2 separate regions of the Homo sapiens genome follow, and region 1 is linked to region 2. The links are contacts of gene promoters, found by promoter capture Hi-C in human tissues and cell types (Jung and others, 2019). All regions are on one chromosome and are shown on one strand. Each heading gives the region's core, a stretch centred on a gene start or on the middle of the fragment in contact. The rest is flanking DNA. Distances are from core to core; before and after follow the strand shown.

Region 1 (3,847 bases), core at 322-2,821, 100 kb after region 2:
GCATGTGCCACCACATCTAGGCAATTTTTGTAGTTTTTGTAGAGATGGGTCTTGCTATGTTGCCCATGCTGGTCTCAAACTCCTGGCCTCAAGGGATTGAAAACTATTTTAAAATATATATATATATTTTAATATATATATATATAATGTACATATATACATATACATTTATACATATATACATACATATATAATATATACATATTATATATTATATATACATACATAATATATACATATTATATATTATATATACATACATAATATATACATATTATATATTATATATACATACATATATATACATATTATATGTATGTGTTGGCCAGTTTTTAGTTGTTTAAAGCAGAAAGGTAAATCCAGTCCCTATTACTCCATCTGATCACCTCCTTGGTCCTGAGATTTTATAAGAATACGTTTAGGCATTGGTCTAAAATCAGTGAGGTCAGATGACACTAGGAAAGCACACTTGAAAATAATAAAACTGGGCCAGGCGTGGTGGCTCACATCTATAATCTCAGCACTTTGGGAGGCCGAGGCAGGCAGATCACCTGAGGTCAGGAGTTCAAGACCAGCCTGGCCAACATGGTGAAACCCCATCTCTACTAAAAATGCAAAAATTAGCTGGGTGTGGTGGCACGTGCCTGTAATCCCAGCTACTTGGGAGACTGAGGCAAGAGAATTGCTTGAACCTGGTCTTTAGAATTATTTCAGTAGAACCAAGTGTAACATTATTTAGTTGGTTTATCATTAACAGAAAATCATAATTAAAAGCTTTATTTAACTTTGTAAATTTGAAAGAGCATAAAGAATAGATGTTTTAGTTGAATATATATATATGATTCAATTCCTAGAGAAATTCTGATACATAGATTTTAACTTAGCACACTAAGTTCAGCACAGATGCCAGGGAGTAGAATGCTTGACTCACCAGCACACAGGAGAACTGTGGTGCAGGAGCACCAAGCCTCCTCTACATTCCCTTCCCCCAGAGCATTGCCCACTCGGATGCTGGCTGCAACTCCAAGGCCCAGGGGTACCTGAGAATTAAGAAGCATAAATCACAGTCGTAAAGCCTGAACATTGGAGTATTAGTGCACTAGCGTCTAACTAAATGGAAACAGGACAGACCCGGAGAGCTGAGTTCTAGAACTGGCTCTCTTACATCCTAGCTGTGTGACTGTGGACAAATTGCTTAGCCATGTGACATCCGATTTCTTTGCAGGTAAGGAAGCATGACAGTTGCCCTGACGGCTCCCTGTACCACATTCATCACAGCAGAACCTCGTAATGAAGCTGGATTTGAGGGCAACACACCCCCTTTATTGGCTACACACACACTATCAAGACAATTCAACTTAGCTACATTATACAAAGTAAGATTTAACTTAGTATAAACGTTAGTATACAAATAATTTGTAAAAATTAAATGACCCATGTGAAAAAGCATTTAGAACCGCGCCTGGCACACTGTAGGAACCCCAGACATTGATGAAATCTGACTCCACGACAATACCTCGTTTTTGGTGGGATGGGTGAAACATTCCATATGTCTGATTATCCGGTAAATTGAAAGAGGCCCCTTCAAATGCAAAGGCTTAATTTTAATCATTGATTATGAAAATCTAAAGCTATAAGCTTATTTGCTTCTTAAATAGACCACCACTCAACCTTTGGGGCCACCTTCTTGACCCCTATCATGATCCTGCAATACAATGCTGCCCCCAGGGGCTGCGAGGGTAACGTGGGTTGTACAGACAACTTAGCTTTGGGCTCTCAAGTTCACTTTTAATCACTCGTACATCAGCTCTAACTTCTCATTCCTACTAGAAACAGCATCCTCCCAAAAGCCTTCTAATTCATTACTGTTTTGAAAACTAGCCTAAGTTCAGTTGATAAAAATATATATTAAATTGTTAAGATTAAGAACTTGAGGCCAGGCGCGGTGGCTCATGCCTGTAATTCTAGCACTTTGGGGTGCCAAGGCTGACAGATCGCCTGAGCTCAGGAGTTCGAGACCACCCTGGGCAACATGGTGAAACCCTGTCTCTACTAAAATACAAAAAACTAGCCACGCATGGTGGCACGCGCCTGTAGTCCCAGCTACTCGGGAGGCTGAGGCATGAGAATCGCTTGAGCTCGGAAGGCGGAAGTTTCAGTGAGCGAAGATTGTGCCACTGCACTCCAGCTTGGGCTACAGAGTGAGACTCCATCTCAAAAAAAAAAAAAAAAAAAAGAACTTAAAAAAAAAAACAGACCTGAGTATGAGTATATAAACATCTCTTAAGATTTGCATGCCTAAAGTACACATAACTGGCTTCCAGTTCAAAATGAATGAATCACATGCCTAACTCCCTTCCCTCCCAAAACACTGTTAATGGAAAATAAATCTCCATGCTTAATAGAAAATAAATTCATTAACAACACTGAGAATGAGAGCCGGTCAGCTTCTGGAAGAGGGAAAGCAGGCTCCACAGCCATGATCCAAGGGCAGAAACGCAGGAAGCCACAGCACAGAACATGAACAGAATGCTGCCTCACACTCCGTCTTCCCAGTAGAGCTCCAGGAGCACTGACGCCCTGCTTCCCCCCACCGAGGCTGTGAAGAAGAGCAGTCAGGGAGATGCGCCACAGGGCTGGGACAGGACACCCAAGCCCCGCGACCTGCCCGTCCTTAGCCTTACTGCACACAAGAAGCTGGGCTGACACAGAAAAGCCAAGTGTGGAGCTTCCTCCGTGGCGTGAGTCAGGCCCTTCTTCTTTTGTTTTGGGGGATAGGTGGGACATGGGGATAAGGTGGGGCAGGAGGTCAGGCTGCCTACTGCCTAATCCTCACCCATAAGTCCTAAAATGAAGATGTCACTGGACAGGTACCACCTTGGTACCGAGTTCCCCACTGGTCCTTCCCATTTTGGGGAGAGGCCTGTTGGAGAAAAATCTCCAAATAATAGGAGAGGAAAGCTATGCCGGCCATTTGTTTGATAAATCAATGTACTCATTCATTCCTAAGTATAAACAGACTAGTAAGATCACCAGAGCTTTGAGGAAGACTGAAGCACACATCCCCAAAACAGATAAAGATAAGTAAAAGGTCAACTGATCTCAGAGAAAATAGATGACTCAAGGAACACAGAAGAACGTTTAAAGTTCCGATTTAGCATCCACAGGGATATTTAAAAGGTAATGCAGCATAAAACAAGAACAGGTTCCCATAAAAGAGACTATAAGACAAAAAAAAGATGTTCTTAGAAATTAAAAATGAAACTAAAAAAAAAAGCAGCAAAGAAGATAAACAAAAAGACAAAGAGATATTTTTTAATAGAAAAAAAAAAGCCAAAGCCAAGAAGATTAATTCCCAAGGTCAACCTCCACCTAATAAGAAATTTAAAAAGAAAGAACAGAAAAAAATTTACAGAAAAGAGGGAAAGAATATTTTTTAAATTTCCCAGAGTTGAAGAAAAACACAGGTCTTCAGACTGAAAGGGTATACCAAGTGCTAAGCAGAAGTTAAAAAGTATCCTCAGAGAAATGCACTCTTGTGAGATTTCAGAACTATAAAGATAAAGAAATAAACGTTAAAACTTTCAAAGAGAAAAATCATGCTGCCTACAAAGGAACAAGAAACAGATTCTGAGCAGACTTCACATCAGTAACTCTGAATACCAGACTGAGACACAGCAATGTCCTCAAAATTCAGAGGGAAGTTATTTTGAACCTACAATCCTATACTCAGCCAAATTATTAAACAAGTATAAGAGGAAAATAAAGACTCTCGAATATGCATGGCATATGATTTACTTTCCATATAATCTTAGAACAAGTTTTTGACTAAGTACTCCAGAACAAA
Region 2 (3,595 bases), core at 304-2,803:
GATTTGCGGCTGCCCTTTTGGAAGAGGTAGGCTGACCATGAGAACTGGCCAAAGGTGAGAAGGACGTGGAGAAGGTGTTGGAGGAGGGAAGTCAGACATACTAGCAATAGCCTGGCCTGCAGGGCTGTAGCTTTCACCTGTACTTCCTCCTGTTTGGTGTCATCATCACAATCACGATGGTGATAAAATGTCTTCTTTCCTCTAGGCAGGTGGTAAAGGTACTATTTGGTGCACAGGTTGGAGAGTGCTGTGATAAGAACCATCAGAACAAGGGCAGGAATGTGACCTCCCAGGTGATCCTGGGAGGATCCAGTGGAGCGTTTCAGAATTCTGTGTCAAAAAAGAAGGCTGCGTGTTGACTGGGGTGGGGCTGTGCCTGTGTTTGGGGCCGCCCATGGGTGTAGCAAACCCTTTTTTTTTTTTTGTATTTGTCCTGCCTCCTCTCCTTCAGGGTCTGCTCCTTCCTCCTCGCGGCTCTGGGGGCTGCATCTCGGAATCCTGCCGGCCACTCCTCCGCTGCAGGGGTGGACATGGGAACCAAGTGGGGCCTTTGGGATGTCTTCAGCCCTCCCACAGCCACTGGCCAGCCTGCCTGCTGTCTTCCTGCCCCCCTCGCTCACTCCTCCTTCTCCTGGGCTGAACCACACCCAAAAGCTTGATCCAGGACTGGGCTAGGTGACCGGTGCAATCCTTAGATGCCTCTCTTGGTTCCCACTGCCCTGCTGGTCTTGAGGCAGGTTGAGGGGGGAGTCACAGGCCATCCCTGCAAGGAAAAGCAGAGAGGGCAATTTGGGAAGGTGACAGAGGACCCTGTGGGACGTCGAGTCACAGCCTTGCTGGGCACAGTGACTGGCGTGCATAGTGAGCTGCTTTCCCAAGCACTGCCACCCCTGGCTCTCAGATATGCTGCTGAAAGGGGTGACGGGCAGTGGGGGGCTTGGGACTCCGCCGAGGTGTCCTAGCTCCCATCCCTATCCCCAGGCCCAGGCCCAGGCCCCTCCAGCATGAAAGGCTAGGGACCGCACTGCCATGGGGTTTGCCAGGCCCCTGTCTCTTGGGAAGCCACCCCTCCCAGGGAAAAGCAGGGCTGAGGGCTGTTCAGGCTCTGCCACCACCTGCTCTGTGACTTCGGGCAGGCCACCAATTCTTCTGAAAAACGGGAGTCACTGTGGGCACCATCACGCCCGGGTACAGGACGCCCAGTGGCTCAGCTGCCCCAGCCAGGCTGCCCTGTCCTGGCCTCAGCACACCTCCCACAGCCACTGCAGGCAGCCCTGGACCTTCTCCTGCTGAGGCCTTACTGCCAATCCCTCTGGGAGACCAGACACAACAGGCAGCGGTCTGGGTGACTCCCAGGAACCTGTCCTCCCTAGTGGCTGAGGCAGTAGGCTTGGCAGCAGGGACTCAGTGCCCTAGGAGGCAGGGCTCATCCCACAAGTTGCCATGGTAGCCCCTCCTCCTGCCCCTTACTCATCAGCCAGGCTGTACCGACACGGGCTGCCCAGGCAGGGGGTGGCTCGCTGGACAAAGCTGGCCGTGCAGGCGCTCAGGCGTGCAGGGTAGCCAGTGCCCCGGCCAGGAATGGACAGCCTCCAGGACACAGTGGCCCTGGACCATGGGGGCTGCTGCCCTGCCCTCAGCAGGCTGGTTCCCAGAGGCTTTGGGACTGAGATGTGGACTCTCTTTGCCCTTTCTGGACCCCTGGTAAGGAGGAGGAGCTGGGGGGCAGGTAGGGAGTGGAGGAAGCTGAGAGGCTGAGGGTGTCTGCCTTGCAGGCAGGATCCAGAAATGTGCTCACATTTTCCCCAGAAACTGCCCATGTTGACTGCCAGGTCCAGAGTCTGGGGACAGCAGGATGGCTCCTGAAAGCTGTCTCTGGACAATCCCCAGTGGCAGTGGGGCCTGACTTTGCTCAGCAGCAGGCAGCCCCCACACAGAAGGGGTGGGTGTGCCTCAGCTGGAAACCCACAAAAGCCTGAGTTGGAAGATGGCTCCAGGACAAATGGGACCCAGAGATGCATGAAGCCTGCAGCACCTTCGCAGGGGGAAGAAGGGGCCGGCTACCCATTTCATTTCCAAAGGGGAAATTGTTTTAAATACATTTATTTTTTCTGATCATGAAGAGGAATAGGCTGGGCGTGCTGCCTCACGCCTGTTATCTCAGCACTTTGGGAGGCCGAGCAGGGAGGATCACCTGAGGTCAGGAGTTGGAGACCAGCCCGGCCAACATGGAGAACCCCCCGACTCTACTAAAAATACAAAAATTAACCAGGCATGGTGGCGGGCGCCTGTAATTCCAGCTACTTGGGAGAGAGAGGCAGAGAATCGCTTGAACCCGGGACGGGTAGGTTGCAGTGAGCCGAGATCGCGCCACTGCACTCCAGCCTGGGCAACAAGGGCGAAACTCCGTCTCAAAAAAAAAAAAAAAAACAAAAAAAACAAAACCAAAAAGGAGTAATGGAATTGCACTTCCTGTAAAACTTTTAGAAAAAAATGAAAGATATAAAGAAGAAAGAAATTTAACTCAAATCCTAGTACTTGGAAATAGCCATTACTAAGATTTTGGTGTATTTAATTCCCCTCCTTTTTTGGGGGTGTGCGGCCTGACCAAATTATTGTTATAATAGGAACTGCAATAGCAGTATCAGACACTTGGGTCAAGCTCAGGGCGCCAGGCACTGCGCTGCGCCAGGCACTGACCCTTCTGGGTAGGGACGTGGAGGCCAGGCGTGACTGCAGCTGCAGAACGCAGAATGGGAGCTGGGCTAGGTCATCCGACCTCCAGCCCTGGCTTCCCCAGGCGTAGGTGACCTCTCGGGGCACTGGTGCGGGGCCCTCAAAGCTGGAGAGGCCTGTCTTGCAGGGCTCGGCTGTGTGGGCACCTGTGGCCCCGAGTCTGACCTGGCCGCTGTCCTCCAGTTCCTGTTCCAGGTGCTGACTTTTATGATCTACATCGTGAGCACTGTGTTCTGCGGGCACCTGGGCAAGGTGGAGCTGGCATCGGTGACCCTCGCGGTGGCCGTGAGTACCCAGCTTGGCCCAGAGCAGGGACGTTCTCTCCCCAGGCTTCTCCACCGGGTTCCCGGGTGGGCCCGTCTTGGGTGGCTGGTCAGGGATGGGAAGACACAGCCCACGTGGCTGGACAGCTGCCTTCACAGGTGGAACCTGAGGGCCGGAGATGGAGGCGGTCTGGCCCTGGGGCACACAGCACATGAGGCTGCTGAGCAGAGCCTCTGCCACCGCTGCCTGCTGGGCAGCATTTCCTGACCCTGGCTCAGCCCAGATGCAGGGGCCTCTCTTCAGGCCTCACCTGACAAGCTCTTGTTTCCTCCTGTGTGTGGCGCCAGTTTGTCAATGTCTGCGGAGTTTCTGTAGGAGTTGGTTTGTCTTCGGCATGTGACACCTTGATGTCTCAGGTGGGTGGCCTCCTGGAGCTGGGCAGGAAGCCAGGCAAGGGCAGAGCCAATTCCACAGGTGCCATGGAGATGGCAGGTGGGAGGGGCGCAGCCAGGTGATCTGGGAGCAATGGGCCCTGGGGTCAGCTGCCCCTGCCCTACCTCCAAGGACCACAGGCTGTCAGGGAAACAGACCCTCC

What was found. Contacts are between HindIII fragments. The study calls those that stand out against the background at their distance.
Region 1: a contact is called between a fragment that was not itself captured here and the fragment with the promoter of SLC47A2 in region 2, in 2 of the 25 tissues and cell types used here (mesendoderm cells and thymus).

The regions. Positions count from the first base shown.
Region 1 is chr17:19,612,981-19,616,827 of GRCh38, reverse strand. No RefSeq gene overlaps it. Among named protein-coding and RNA genes, the nearest start is that of ALDH3A2, 34 kb to the left of the region's middle. The HindIII fragment of the contact is 3,298 bases long and covers 1-3,220 here.
Region 2 is chr17:19,714,542-19,718,136 of GRCh38, reverse strand. SLC47A2 (solute carrier family 47 member 2) reads left to right here and starts at 1,553. Exons shown (of 17, transcript NM_001099646.3): 1 at 1,553-1,704; 2 at 2,920-3,021; 3 at 3,348-3,416. The coding sequence starts at 1,582. It overlaps LOC124903948 (a long non-coding RNA gene), which reads right to left. Exons shown (of 2, transcript XR_007065659.1): 1 at 2,902-3,595; 2 at 1-763. RefSeq lists enhancers at 378-1,225, 1,226-2,075. The HindIII fragment of the contact is 9,747 bases long and covers 1-3,595 here.